2 separate regions of the Homo sapiens genome follow, and region 2 is linked to region 1. The links are contacts of gene promoters, found by promoter capture Hi-C in blood cells and fetal thymus (Javierre and others, 2016). All regions are on one chromosome and are shown on one strand. Each heading gives the region's core, a stretch centred on a gene start or on the middle of the fragment in contact. The rest is flanking DNA. Distances are from core to core; before and after follow the strand shown.

Region 1 (7,740 bases), core at 1,794-4,293:
TAAGTTAGAACTTCAGATCACATTGCAAAACATAGATGGGTGAAAGTCTAAATTCTTAAAAAAAAAATACAGTGTAGTATACTAGATTAAATAAAGGATTATCGGCTGGGTGCAGTGGCTCATGCCTGTAATCCCAGCACTTTGGGAGGCCGAGGCAGGTGGATCACCTGAGGTCAGAAGTTCAAGACTCGTCTAGCCAACATGGTGAAACCCCATCTCTACTAAAAATACAAAAATTAGCCAGGCGTGGTGACACGTGCCTGTAATCCAAGCTACTCAGGAGGCTGAGGCAGGAGAATCACTTGACCCTGGGAGGCGGAGGTTGCAGTAAGCCGAGATCGTGCCACTGCACTCCAGCCTGGGCGACAGAGCAAGACTGTCTCAAAAAAAACCACTTTTAGTCTGCTTTCATGAGCAATAGTTATCAATGAATTAACCTACTAATTTGCTATATCTTGAGTTTTTTACTTGGAATTTTTCAAAGTTTTTCCAGTGTAGTAGCTTTGCTTGCCTTACCTTCCTGCTTAGTGAAATTCCAACATAGAATCTTCTGGGTTTTTTTTTTTTTTTTTTTCAGTCTCAACCTCCTGGGCACAAGTGATCCTCTAGCCTCAGACTCTTGGGTAGCTGGGATTACAGGTGTGCACCACACACCCAGCTACTTTTTATTTGTTTTTGTTTTTTGTACAGAGAGGATCTTGCTATGTTGCCCAGGCTGGCCTCGAACTCCGGGGCTCACTCAATCCTCCTGCCTCGCCCACAAAGTGCTGGGATTATAGGCATGAGCCACTGTACGTGGCCTAAAGTCTTGTATTTCAATGAGGCAGCACTGTCATTACGCTAAGCACCATTTTTACCACTGATGTGGAATGTACTTTAACCTTCCTAAACCTCAGTTTTACCCACCCTCAAAATAAGTTATCTTTTATTGTACAAATGTCCCAACCAAAAGCATAAGCAAGAGCAGACAAAGTTAATTATACTAAGGATACATCATTTTATCCTTACTACCTCTTGCAGTGTCTGGCATATAGTAGGAGCTCAATGGATGTCCACTGAATGCTGAAAAGAAGTGAAAGGTAGTAGCCTCACATCTGTGTCCTAAAGAAGGAGACTAACATTTTCATACAATACCAAAATAGATATATTCATTAAAAATGAAAATAGATATTCATTACAGTGTCTCTGAGTTAAAAAGATGGTATAGTTAAACATTCTGGGCTAAGCCTGTGTGTGTGTGTATGTGCTAAAAATATGTTTCTTTAAAGGCTAATCAGCCAAGGATCGTTGGGGACAAAATCAGATTCATTGGCTTGATGCATTGAAAGAGTACCTGTGGAATGCCATGTGAGCACAGAAAGGAGGAAGTGTCTTTTGTAAAGATTTGGCTTCCTATTAAAGGATTCCAGGGAGAGTCTTGGAATCAGAGCTGGGATCCAGTTGGTTGCTGTTTCTGAGGCAGATTGAGAGAAAGGGGGATTAATGAGGGATTGGGTGCTGTCAGGAGGTGAAGGGAGTTTAGCAATTGGGTATCCCCAGTTATGGATGGGAATAGTAAAGCAAAGGTAGAAAGTAGTAGTCATTCAAAAATGGAACACAAGGAGTTGTGTTGTTTTGTACCTGCTGCGTGACTTCAGAGGAAACAACATTGCCTGTTAATTTTGCTTCTGACTTTGTCCTCTCAGCCTGATCATTGATCATTGGCAGTACTAACTTTTCCAAGTCCAAGCTGATTTTCACTCTTTGAGTCCTGGACAGGTTTTTACTCTTTAGTTTTTATTTATTTATTTATTTATTTATTTATTTATTTATTTATTTATTTATTTATTTTGAGACGGAGTCTTGCTCTGTCGCCCAGGCTGGAGTGCAGTGGCACGATCTCGGCTCACTGCAACCTCCGCCTCCTGGATTCAAGCGATTCTCCTGCCTCAGCCTCTCAAGTAGCTGGAACTACAGGCGCGGGCCACCACTCCCGGTTAATTTTTTGTATTTTTAGTAGAGACGGGGGTTTCACCGTGTTAGCCAGAATGGTCTCGATCTCCTGACCTCGTGATCCGCCCGCCTCGGCCTGCCAAAGTGCTAGGATTACAGGCGTGAGCCACCGCACCCAGCTGGTTTTTACTCTTTAAATGTGCATTATCTTATTTGATTCCCAGAATCATCCTATATGAATGCTATTATCTTCATTTTATAATTGAGGAAACAGGTTTATCTAGATTAGGTAACTTGTCTGAGGCTCTTCGGTAAATACGAGTAGCCAAGAAGCTTATTCATCAACAGTGTGTGACTCAGCCCTAAGCACTGCACTTATACCTCCTAGTAATGAGATGTGCGAGGAATGCCCTGGCTACCTTTTCTGCTCATGATATTATCCCTAGATGCTTTCGCATCTTTATTAAAACAGTAAAAATGCAAGAGTCTTCCACCCAAGTTTTCTGTGGTTTAGATTATCACGTTCCTCAAGATGCAAATGTCAAACTATACTGGGCATCCAGTTAACCTGCAAGGCCTGGAGGTGATGGGAGCCCCTCCTAGCACAGGTTCCCAGTCTCAGTCAGAAAGCACCTGCTCAAAATAGAAAGATAATTACAGAGTAGGGGCCAAAGAGACTCCCACTGGAAGAATGGAACTTGTGTAGCTGGGGTGACACAAGCTGGGGACAAGCTGGGGGACACATTCGCGAAGGGTGTTTGACCCAGGCAGTGCACCCACGGCTCCCTTGAGCCACCCTGGCCCGGGTGTTTATTTGGAAGGAGTGTTCATCCCCCAGACTGTTTAGGGCCACGGTGACAGGGAAGGGCTTGGTGAAGGAAAGCAGGTAGGGTATGAAGGCCGCTCAGGTTCACGAAAGACTTTTGCTTGGTCCCCTGCGGGGTGGGAGTGTGTCGCCCCGGTGCGGGTACTTAGAGCGCAACCGGGGAGCTGAGCAGGGGAGCTGAGCAGGGGAGCTGGGCAGGGGCGGCTGCCGCGCCCCACATCCCTGAGGGCGTGTGTGCGCGTGCGCGCGCGTCGCCGTGGTAACCGCGGCGGCGGAAAGGCGCTGAATCACTGGCGCGCGCTTTCCCCGAGCCTGCAGAAGCTGCCGCGGGCGGTGGGCGGGGATCCCCCGGGGGTGCAACCTTGCTCCACCTGTGCTGCCCTCGGCGGGCCTGGCTGGCCCCGCGCAGAGCGGCGGCGGCGCTCGCTGTCACTGCCGGAGGTGAGAGCGCAGCAGTAGCTTCAGCCTGTCTTGGGCTTGGTCCAGATTCGCTCCTCTGGGGCTACGTCCCGGGGAAGAGGAAGCGAGGATTTTGCTGGGGTGGGGCTGTACCTCTTAACAGCAGGTGCGCGCGCGAGGGTGTGAACGTGTGTGTGTGTGTGTGTGTGTGTGTGTGTGTGTGTGTGTGTGTGTGTAAGACCTGCGATGACGACGAGGAGGAACAAGTGGGACGGCGAGTGATGCTCAGGGCCAGCAGCAACGCATGGGGCGAGCTTCAGTGTCGCCAGCAGTGACCACAGGTACGGTATCTACTTCCCAGAGCGCCTGGCCGAGAAATAGGAAAGAGGGCAGCCAGTAGGCAGGCCAATACCCAACAAAAGTAGAATCGAGACGCCCTGAGTTCAGAAGGTGAGTTTCTTAAGATTCTTCTGGGCATTCAGGAAAGGGCATTTTTTGATTGCTGCACTGATTGTTGACTAGTAGGGTGGAGTCGGGGAAATTTGAGTGTCTTTTCCCAACCTCACGAATTGCATTTTTTTAGAAGTAAGGAATCGTTTTCTTTAAACTTCATTCAGAACTATTTATGTGATCTTTCCTATTATTTGCTAAATGCATTTTGTCTCTGTTCCTTACCATAACCTGAAGCTTAAAATCTTTCTCTTCTTCCCTTTGAATTCCCTCCAAGGAATGTCACAAATTAATCGGGAGGATAAACCTGAAATTTTGAGAGTTATCATCTTAAGGTCATTTGTTAATTAAATACAAGGAGGAAAAATATGATATACATACTCATGTGCACTTTTATTGCTGGTTTGTTCATCAAAACATTTTTGTTTGTCGGTGAAATGTTAGTATTTTTTCCACTGCTTGAATTGAAAAGTTGAATGATGTTTTTGATAGTAACAGAAAAAATAAATTGTAGACAATGTTCCCCCCCACACACAAGAATTTTGGAAGTAAATGTTGGTATTTATTTCTTTATTCCTGAAATACATGCTCACTTTCCAAATGCTTCAATTTATTATAAGAAGACCACAATTGTAGAGACTACTAAAGTTATGCCAAATCTAAACTTTTATTTTGTGCTTTTTTTAGTATTATTTTTAATTCAGATGAGGAAAACTGGAGGTGTCAGTTCAGTTATAGACGTAGGAGTCACAGAGAAAGGTGAATTCCTCTGTAATTTGAAAAAGGGAAATGTAAACATATTACCTAAGTACTCTGATTTATTTGTATTAACCATTTGTAATGCATTTGCATTTGTAATGCAAAATGCCGAGGCAAGAACTTAATTTTTGTTTCGAAATAATGAAAATAATTCAGCCAAAATCTTTATGAATTAAAAATAGCCAAAAGAGAGCTTTGGTAATGTATGAATGTAAAAGAATAGAGTTGCTGTTAAATTTTCTTGACTTTTTTTTTTTCCCTAGCCAATAGATAGGAAGCATTCTCTTTAAATAAATACAGTAAGTCCTCACTTAACATTCTTGATACGTTCTTGGAAACTGTGAACCTTTAAGCACAACGAGGTATAAGGAAACCAATTTTACCACAGGCTAATTGATATAAACAAGAGTTAAGTTCCTACAGCATATTTCTGGTCATAAAAAAATCACCAAACTTCTAAATAAAGACCACAACACTTCTAATATTAAACATAGAAATAAATGGGATCTATACATACAGTTAAGAAGGATTAGTAAAAACAAGATCATTATTTACCCAATTATTACAGTTCAAGGTCATGGGTAGCCAGAGTCTCCCTGGTTCAGAGTGGGAACCCCCCCCTCTCCCCTGTCCAGGAAGCTATCCCATCACAGGGTGCACTTTCACAGACACACCCACTCACTCAGACGGGGACCATGTAGACATATGCACAGCTTTGGGATGTGAAGGAAACCGAAGCCCAGAGAAAACCCACGCAGACATGAGGAGAATGAGCAGACTCCACATAGACAGTGGCCCTGGCCAGGAATTTTTTTGTCACCAACGTTGAATGAAACTATGTTATTGAGGCACTGCTGTATGTAGAGCCAGGTATGCCCGTTTCTGGAACGGAGTGCTGCAGATTGCCAGGTCAGAGGGTGTGGGTTTGGGCGTGGCTCTGCCACTTAGTGGCTGTCTCACATTTGGCAAATTCTCTAAACCCTCTAAGGCTCAGTTTCCTCACCTGTAAAATAGAGATAACAATGGGACCTACTTAACGAAATTCCTGTAAGAATTAAATACAATAATATGTTTAAGAGATCTTTGCTCATTGCCTGGCATGTTTTAATAGTAACGCTTCAATAAGTGTTGTTATTTTTGAGATGTGTTCTTTTTCAGGAAATATTTTTCATACCTTAAAAATAATTTGGTACTAAAAAATAGATTTATTTTGACATGTCCAAAGCTTGTTCTGATTTATGATATCAAATCATCATAAAATGCATAAATTTTTCCTTGCAGCACCTTTATAACAGCAACAATAATAAATATAATAATCAAAATCATAAAATCATGTCAATTTAATATTCTGGTAGCTTAATACCCCCAAGGAAGGAGCTTTGCTTTAGTAGGCCTAGAATAATTGGTAGGTTATTTTTCTATTTGTTTTTAAAATTTTTTTTATAGATTTAGAGTGTACAAGTGCAGTTTTGTTATGTGGATATATTGTGTAGTGTCAAAGTCTGGGCTTTTAGTGTACCCATTACCCGAATAGTGTAGGTTATTTTTCTATTTGTCTTTAAAAATCTGTACCTTTAGACACTATTCATGTGAATTCAATAATAAGAAAATATTTTCTCATTTATTTGTATTAAACAATAAAAATGGTTGAGCCAGAGTAACATCTGGCATCATCATTTTGCAGGGTCTTTTAACAGTAGGTGTTTAAGTTTTAAAGTAGAGCTGCTTAAATGACACCAGTAGGTAAAGATAATAGTGTTCAAGTTTTAGTTATTTTTCCTTCTAAATAATATTGTAGAATTATCCTGCCTGCCAACTTGCTGGTCATTCTTTTCCTTAAGTTCAAAAAAGCAAAGGAGGCTGGGAACGCGGTGGCTCATGCCTATAATCCCAGCACTTTGGGAGTCCGAAATGGACGGATCACCTGAGGTCAGGAGTTCGAGACCAGCCTGGCCAACATGGTGAAACCCCATCTCTACTAAAAATACAAAAATTAGCCAGGCATAGTGGTGGGCGCCTGTAATCCCAGCTGAGGCAGGCGAATCACTTGAACTCCGGGAGGCGGAGGTTGCGGTGAGCCCAGATTGCCTCACTGCACTCCAGCCTGGGCCACAGAGCAAGACTCTAATTCAAAAAAAAAAAAAATGCAGCAAAGGATTATAGTAAGCATCTATTTAATTTAAGCAATGTAGCTTGAATAAGAGGATAATTCAGGCCTAAAAATGAATTTTCAAAGTTGGGGTCATTCCATGCTATTAAGCATCAGAATATAAGCATGGAGGGTAAATTAACTCCAGCGTTGCCACCCATAACACCCATACATTTTAAGCATTACAGTTGATAGGATGTTTATTCATGTGATGATGGGGAAGTATGGGCTGTCCCTTCCCAGGATCACAATCCTGTTCTGTTATTCTAAGATTGTGATTATGTCAGCATACCTTACCATCTTTTGTTTTCATCATTAAGATGAAGTACATGATGTGTAGCTGCACTGTCTTGTAATCATTGTAACAGAGTTACCTTCAAAATTTTTTCAAAATAACCCTTTAAAATGTCTTTCTTTTCTTTTCTTCTTTCTTTCTTTCTCTCTCTCCTTCCTTCCTTCCCTTTCTTTCTTTTCTTTTTTTCTTTCTCTTTCTTTCCTTCCTTCCTTTCCTTCTTTCTCTTTCTTTCTCTCTTTCTTTCTTTCCCTTACTTCCCTCCCTCCCTCCCTCCTTCCCTCCCCTTCCCCTCCCTACTCCTTCCTTCCTTCTTTCCCTTCCCTTCCCTTCCTTTCTTCTTTCTCTCTCTCCTTCCTCCCCTCCCCTCCCCTCCCCTTCCTTTCTCTCCCCTCCCCTCCCCTTCTCTTTCTGACACGGTCTTGCTCTGTCACCCAGGCTGAAGTACAGTGCCACGATCTTGGCTCACTGCAGCCTCTGCCTCCTCCCACCTCAGCCTCCTGAGTAACTGAGACTACAGGCGCATACCACCAAGCCCAACTAATTGTTATAGTTTTTATAGAGACAAGATCTTGCCATGTTGCCCCGACTGGTTTTGAACTCCTGGGCGCAAGTGACCTGCTCACCTCCGCCTCCCAAAGTGCTGGGATTACAGTCATCAGCCACCATACAAGGCCTAAGATGTCTCATTTTCAAGAAAACTGTTTTTACCATCTCTCTCAGTATATTTGTATTGCTTAAGAGGCTAAAATATTTTGTTAATTTGGTGTCTTCAACCTCTTTGTCTTAAACATAGGTGCCAAATGTTCAAAATTTATTGTAGTATAGGAAAGGTCTTCCCATGCAGATATGTGTTTCTGAGCATGCTAACTAGGTTAACTAGTCTTCAATGTTTCCTATCCCCTACTATACTACAACTGCTTTTCCCAAACT
Region 2 (7,740 bases), core at 3,023-5,522, 520 kb before region 1:
GTTGGAAATCATTAAGAGTTTAAAGAGAGATATGATCAAATCTGATATTTTAAATAAAGCTCATTTGGCTGTGATGTGGCAAGTGGGCTGGAGGGCAGGGTGGTGAGAGGAGACACAGGAAGCTCAGTTGGGACATTCCTGCTGTGGTTCAGACGAGAGCTATGTGGGCTTGGACTAGGGCAGTGTGTCTGCTTCAAGGGGAAAGGGTTTGGTGTTTTGTGGAATTTGGGGAATGAGGGAATGTTTCATGAAGCCGAAGGGGAGAGTGTTTTTAAAAGGAGGACATCATCGACTGTGCCAGATGGAGCTGAGATGTCCAGGAAGGGGCTGACTACACTAGAATGCATTATTTGAATATCATGATGTGGAAGATTTTTTGGGGGGGGGGGGCAGACTCTTGCTCTGTCACCCACACTGGAGTGCAGTGGTGTGATCTCAGCTCACTGCAACCTCTACCTCCCGGGTTCAAGTGATTCTCCTGCCTCAGCCTCCCGAGTAGCTGGGACTACAGGTGTGCACCACCACGCCTGGCTAATTTCTTGTATTTTTAGTAGAGATGGGGTTTTGTCATGTTGGCCAGCCTGGTCTCGAACTCCTGGACTCAAGTGATCCGCCCACTTTGGCCTCCCAAAGTGCTGGGATTAGATGTGAGCCACCGCACCCACCCAGAAAGATATTTTTGACCTCAGGAAGAATGCTTTTGGTGGAATGACGAGGGTGAAATCCATAGTGTGTGGCTTAAGGAGTGAATGGAAAGAAGAGGAGGAGAGAGAGGTGGAGAGACTACACCTCTTTCCAGAAGTTTGGCTCTGAAAGTAAAGAGAAAGGGTTAATACTAGATGGTAACAGTAAGTAAAGAAAGAATTGTAGTTTTACAGTTTTTTTGTTTATTTGTTTGTTTGTTTTTTGAGGCAGAGTCTCACTCTGTCGCCAGGCTAGAGTGCAGTGGCATGATCTTGGCTCACTGCAGCCTCTACCTCCCGGGTTCAAGCAATTCTTCTGCCTCAGCCTCCCTAGTAGCTGGGACTATGGGCACGTGCTGCCACGCCTGTCTAATTTTTTTGTATTTTTAGTAGAGACAGGGTTTCACCATGTTGGCCAAGATGGTCTTGATCTTCTGACCTTGTGATCTGCCCACCTTGGCCTCCCAAAGTGCTGGGATTACAGGAGTGAGCCACTGCACCCGGCCAGTTTTACAGTTTTTAAAATGGGAGAAGCTTCCACACATTTAGATGCTAAAGGAAGGAACAGATAGGAAAGATTTAAGAATCAGGAGAGAAAAGAGACAATAGCTTAAGATTCCCGACTATGGGGTAGAGGAGAATGCTTAGAACCAAGGTGGAGGAATTGGTCATTTGTCACATTTGCTGACATTTTACTGACATTTTCTGGCTGGATGTCTGTCTCCTTCACTGGGCTGTAACCTCCTGAAGGTGAAGGCTGAAATTCTATTTGATTTTATATCCCTAGCACTTAGTGTAGGACTTAGCACGATAATGTGCCCTCTGAGTGTTTGGCTGGGCTGACGTGTCACTTGTGGTAGGAAGGTCTCTACAGATGTGTTCCCTTAAGGATATAGACTGAAGGCCTTGAATGCTTAGGAAGCTGGGGATTGACTTGAGGTAGGTAGGGCTTCTTGGATAGATTTTTTAAATGAGAACTATGAAATGGCAAAGCTGTCTGGCCTGTTAGGTTAGTAACTTTGGCTGTTTATGCCTGATCCAAAGCCCTAGGCTAAAATCAGTCATGGTGGAGATAAAGAGCAACCTACAACATGCAAGTCAAGAACTACCACAGTGAATTCTCTCCTTCTTAGCTATCTCCTTGGTCTAGAAAGAAAGATGAACCCCACAGCAGCACCCCACAAGAAGAGAAACAGTGCTCACTCATTTGAGTCTACTTCTCATCAGATCTGATGCAACTTATCTGCACAGGCCATGAATGGAACAATGAAAAGATGACCTGAAATCTTTCCCCACTCAGTTGCTGTTAAATTTAACACAGACATAAAAATTAAGAAATTCAGTGAAACAATTATATTGCATTTGTATTTTTCTTCTGCACTGCCATTAATATTGGCTGGTAAAAATTATTCCATACTTATTTCCATGAATTTTGAAAAGACTTAAAACTGCCTGATATACTTGGGTGATATTCTTCCAGGAATGATAAAATGAGACAGAAATGGCCTTTGAGTGTTTTCAGGAAGGGAAAATGGAAAATGAAAGCTGGACTAAAAGGTGTTACAAAAGCAAACTAGTTAATACTTCCAAGAAATGAATATGCTAAGATATTGTTTGCTGATCAACATTTATTAAACATTTACTGTGTACCACTGATCTAGGCTCTTGGCCAGATATGAGCAACAAAAAGAAGATAGTGTAGTGCTTGCCTTCCAAAATCTAGCACAGTCCTAGAAAGAATTCAGGTTTCACTAAGGCTACTTAGGGAGAGAGTTCTCTAGGTTCTAGAAATTAAGGCAGGCACCCACACAAAGACTCAGTTGCAAATGGGTGGAAAGAATGATTTTTATTAATCAGCACAATATCTTAAAAATCCCAGTGTAGCCTTCTTTGATAAAAGACAGAGTACATGACTTAGAGGCTTAAGAGGGGTCTTCTACTACCCATTCTGGATTTCTGTTTTGAGACTTGGAAGTTCTAAAGTCCTTGCAGAGGAGATTCTGAGGCCCACCAGTAGCCTAAAATCTCCAGGCCTGCTCCCCTCACTGCCCCCACTCCTGGGTGGAACACAGACGTAGAAGATGCTACTCAGCTCAGTGGCCCTGCCCACCATGCACCTGACCCTGTGAATGCCTGTGGCTGGCCGTTCAGGTTAGTTCTTCTTCCCTCCTCTCCCACACCATGGAGACACAGGAAGAGAAGGAAGATACGTGTTTTTCTCTAGTGCTGACATTAGAGCCTGAGACTCCGGCCTTGCATGAGGCCAGATGGGCTAAGGTTTCTATGCTGGGTTTTTCGAGATCTCCCCAGACCCTTCCAGCAAATTCCTCTTTTTACTCGAGGAGGTTTTGGAAACAAATGAGTAAGACAGACGTAGTCTCTGTAATAAGAGAATGGTGAGTCAAGGACACCTGAAAAACAGTAATAGCTAAGGTCGGACAGAATAGAAGGGAAAAAAAAAAAAGCAAAAAGAGCTCTGGAGACACAGGAGAAAATGAAGCTCAGATGTCTGGGAAGGCGAGAGTATCTAAAACCTTTACCAGAGAAGACTGGAGGGCCTCTTTGGGAGATGAAACTCTCTGTCACCTGGAGATTCACCAAAGACTCTGAGGCTGAGGGGAACAGTATACTGTGGAACTGATTTCTGAGACCACAGTTGGAAATTGTGTGTTCAGAGTCCTTACAAGTCTGAAAAGGCCTTTATTTTTACAGCCACACTTGAGTCACCATTTGGCTGTAGAATTCTCCCTCAGAATTCTGTAAACATCACTCCATTGGGTCTCCTGGCATTTTATTTCCAAATAAGAGAGCAATGTCCACTGGTTTCTTTGCACTTGGCAGACACCTGATTTTGGTGAAGGTGTTGGAGTGTCTTTTGTTGGGAGAAGTGAGTGTGAGGAGGGTGGGGGAGTGTTCTGGAAGTTTGTAGGATTTCTTGTAGGATTCTTTTCTGTCATTTACAAATTTCAACAGATTATCTGTAATATGGCTTTTTTCAGTATTCCTGCCCAACAATCCTTAGATTCTTTAAATATGAAATCTAGATTTTCTTCTATTGAGAAAAATGTTAACTTATTCTTGATCATTCCTTCATTTGTTTTCTGGAATTTCTGTTATGTAGAAGTTATCATATATTATTCTTCCTGTTTCTTAATTTTCTTTCATAACTTCTCTGTTTTTTAGGAGATTCCTTAAATTGGTTATCTGTTTCACAGTTGCCAGGTTTGGTTTTTGGCATATTATTCTGCTACTTAAGATCTCCACTATTTTTTTGTTTTGTTTTGGCGCCCATGATTTTACTGGAAAAATCCTTTTGTTCTCTCCTTTTTTGTTACCCCTTTTCATTTATGTGACACCTTCCTGAAAATTACCCCTCCCTTTGAGATTTAAATAAAATGTCTGGCTCTTCATCCCATTCTTGATGGGAAGTTTAATGCCTCCCCTAACTCCTGTTTTTTTTTTTTCTTTTCAATTCCAAGAGGTTTTGTACTTGGTCCCCACCTAGGTCCAATTTTCTTTGTCCTAGATTTCCTAATTGTACCTCTTCTTAGAGTCTGTTCTTACAGCCTGTCCTGGTGCAGACATGGAACACATCGTTTTCCTTTGTGTTCCCCAAATGGCATTCTTTCATTCCATTCACCTTGTGTGGACACACTTTGCTGAAGGTCTGAGGTGGCGAAAAGGGTGGCGTCACAGCTCTCCAGAGAGTATTCATGTGTTTTAAAAAGTCCTCCATCTGCCCCATTACCAGGGATTTGTCACCTACCACCTTACTAACAAGGCTCCTCTTCTGTCCTGTTGAAAGGAAGAATCACTAATGGATGCTAGCAGGGCTTAGTACCTAGGTGATGGGATGGTCTGTGCAGTACCTGCCATGGCACGTGTTTACCTGTGTAACAAACCTGCACATCCTGAACATGTACCCCTGAACTTAAAAGTTGGAAATCAAAAAAGAGAAAGGGCCTCTGTTCTCTGCCTTTCTTATCTTCCAGACAGAACTCCCTTTACCTGAATTCTAAAGTCCTCTTTGTTTCTATCTGATATTTAAGTCAAAAAGATGTTGCCACACCTGTTCTCTCCTTCAGAGAATTCAGGTTCCTGCTATTATAATCCCTTTTTATTCCTTGATGCACTAAATTTCTTTTTCTGAAAATTCTTCCTTGTTTTCTTTACTAAATCTATCTTGCAGAAAGATATCTTTGCCCTGATTGTTCAGCTTATTTCTGGCAGCTAATTTTTCCCATATGTCTAATGTTTCTTGTATAAGAGAAAATAGATGGCTTTTATTTCTAATCAGAGGTCTATTTTTCTCAATGTTGGCAAATCCTGTGGGTTCCCTAAGCAATTGTGCATCTCAGGGTTCAGTTCCTTCTGGTGGTTTCCTGCTTTCTTTTCCTATGTGAGGCTTACGTAGAATTTATTTAACATGCAATAAAATATGCACATAACATGAAATATGTTTACAATATGGATAAATCCCACAATCATAATGGTAGGAGAAAGAGGCCAGATACAAAACAGCATATGATTCCATTTATACAAAATTTAAGAGTAGGCATAACCAGTCTGTGGTGATACAGATTAGAGGAGTGGCTATCATTTGAGTGGATGTTGACTGGGAAGGAGTTAGCTGGAGTCCTAGAAATTTTCTATATCTTGATGTGGGAGGTAGTTACATGAATGTATACCTGCGTAAAAAAGTCATAGAGCTATACATTCAAGATTAGTGCACATTACTATATGTAAGTCATACCTCACTTTAAAAAATGTCATGTGATGTCATCTAGAACTAGGGAAGGAATAATTTGAGAGACCTTCTTGATTTGGAGAGGAAAAGGATATTTTGAGGGCAGGTGTTACTTAGAAGAATTGCTCTACATAGCAGTCTTTTCTTCCTTTATCCTACTATCAGACATTTCTCCAACTAGAATAAGATGTGGTTACAACTGTCCTCTTGCTGTTTCGTGAGAATTGCTTAGTTGTTTCCTACACAGAATTTTAAACGTTGTGGTAAATACAAGTTCAAAGTCACATTGCCAGTGCTTCGGAAACTTATAATCTAGTTGGAGAGACAAGACTAACATAAAAGAGAATTTAGTGTTGCTTTTTTTTTTTTTTAAGTGCAAATTTTGAGGCACAGAATTCTCCAGGGATTCAGGAGAAAGAGCACTCAGTGGGAAAAGGAGGAATTGATTTTAATGAAGCGGGGAGGACTTAAGGTGAGTTTTTGAAAATACCTGGGCAGGCACAATGCCAGCTAGTTCTTCACTGTATTGTGTTTGTTTAAAGAAACATAGAACACCTGCTTGCTAGAGCTGAAACAGTGACTGGGCAAGACAGGATATTTATCAAACTGGGGAAAATAAACCAAGTGGCATACAGATGTCTGAAGAGATTTAGACTTGGATTCTGAATTCCCACTAGTCTGAGCCCTCAGGGTTGAGAGGACAGTACAGTCAGGGGAGGGTAGGGATCGGGAAGGAACAGAGGCCAGGCCTAAACTGTATGCCCCGGTGGGAAATACTATACAGAGGTCTTTTCTTTTACAACAAAGCAATTCTTATTATATTACAAAGAAAACCAAAATCTGTGTTTATGACAGGATGACTTACAGAAGGATACAAAAAATTAGGGAGTGATATATTAAGTTCTCCTTAATATTTTCTCCTCTGACACTACATTCATGTATCTGCAAAAACATACATGTGCTTTCAGACACACATGTATGAACACATACACACACACACACACACACACACACACACACACACACACACCCTTCATACTCCTGTGCTGGTGGGGAATTCGGAGTTTATCTAAAGTACACACTTCATACTCCTGTGCTGGTGGGGAATTCAGAGTTTATCTGAAGTGCTCTTTGCTAGGCTCTGTGGGTGGAGCTGGGAGGGTAATGGTAAGGTTGGCAGATATATGAAGACAACTGAAATTCATATCAGCAGGCTGAGTGTTCATGTCACCAGAAGTCTGACTCGCCTGCTGTGCTCTTGCCTGCTGTGCTCTCGTAATTACTTTCGGAAAGGTTTTCTGGCTACAATAAAATCTGATTAAATTTGTTACCAAGCAAATTGAATTGTTCAGGCTGCAACCTTTCTAGAAGTTTTAAACGTTATTTAAAAGAAGATTTCAACCTCACTCCATTTCAGCTTTCTCTGGGGAGCTGCTCTTGTGCTGTTTGGCCCCTGCCTACTCGGAATGGAACAAAGGTATGGTGTGTATTGTTTTTCTACTGAATTTAGGATATTTATTTTTGATGGTTTGTCTTCACGTCTTCTGTAACTAGATATAAGAATTGAGAGTTCTTGCTGGGGGATGGGGAGGGATTTAGGATGTTAAAACAGTTTTCAAATATATAGTGTTTGCCATCTTCAGAACACCTGATTTACAATTCACTCAGTTACTTGGGTATAGAACTTGCTTGTATCGCACCCTGCTTACCCTTGATATTCTATCTGCTTGAGCCCTCTCTGCAACCCTGTCCACTTTACCCAACCCCCTTATCAGCAACACTGCCTTTTCTGTATACTTCCCTTCTTTTTTCTGTGGCTGCTAGCAGATCTTGTTTTTGGAGCTTTCCTTCTGTCAAGACATTACTTACTGCTTTGCTCAGGTCTCAGAAAGCTTTAGGATCCAGAGAGATACTAAAGGCTGAATGGGCATGGAAGACCCAGGGTTTGGACTTGAGGGGTGCTCTGGACTAAATGGTACACTGAATTCATGGATCAAAAGTGCAGTTAGTCTTAAAGCTCCAATCAATACAATGTTGACTACTTCATGGGGTAAGTAAGATTTTTGTGGGCTGGTTAGAACTTACTTGCCATTCGCAACTTGTTTTTATGGGAAAATATCAAGTGCAGTATAAAATAAACATTTAGACCACTACCTAGTCATAAAGGGGGGGGTGCTTTCTGTAGTATATTTAATTAAACACATATTATTATAACATTTTGCTAAGTTCTAGTTCTCAAGTAAATATAAAGCTGTTCTAAAGATATTTTAGGAGTGGTGACATGTTTAAATCTCAGGTTTATAAAAAGGG

Evidence for each region. The method cuts DNA at HindIII sites, captures the fragments that hold promoters and counts their contacts. A CHiCAGO score of 5 or more calls a contact.
Region 2: a contact is called between a fragment that was not itself captured here and the fragment with the promoter of KIAA0319 in region 1, in 1 of 17 cell types (neutrophils). The highest score is 6.1, in neutrophils.

Annotation. Positions count from the first base shown.
Region 1 is chr6:24,641,494-24,649,233 of GRCh38, reverse strand. It overlaps KIAA0319, which reads left to right and starts at 3,043. Exons shown (of 21, transcript NM_014809.4): 1 at 3,043-3,498. RefSeq lists a silencer at 2,989-3,198. The HindIII fragment of the contact is 1,579 bases long and covers 2,268-3,846 here.
Region 2 is chr6:25,165,457-25,173,196 of GRCh38, reverse strand. No RefSeq gene overlaps it. Among named protein-coding and RNA genes, the nearest start is that of CARMIL1, 110 kb to the left of the region's middle. The HindIII fragment of the contact is 6,105 bases long and covers 1,220-7,324 here.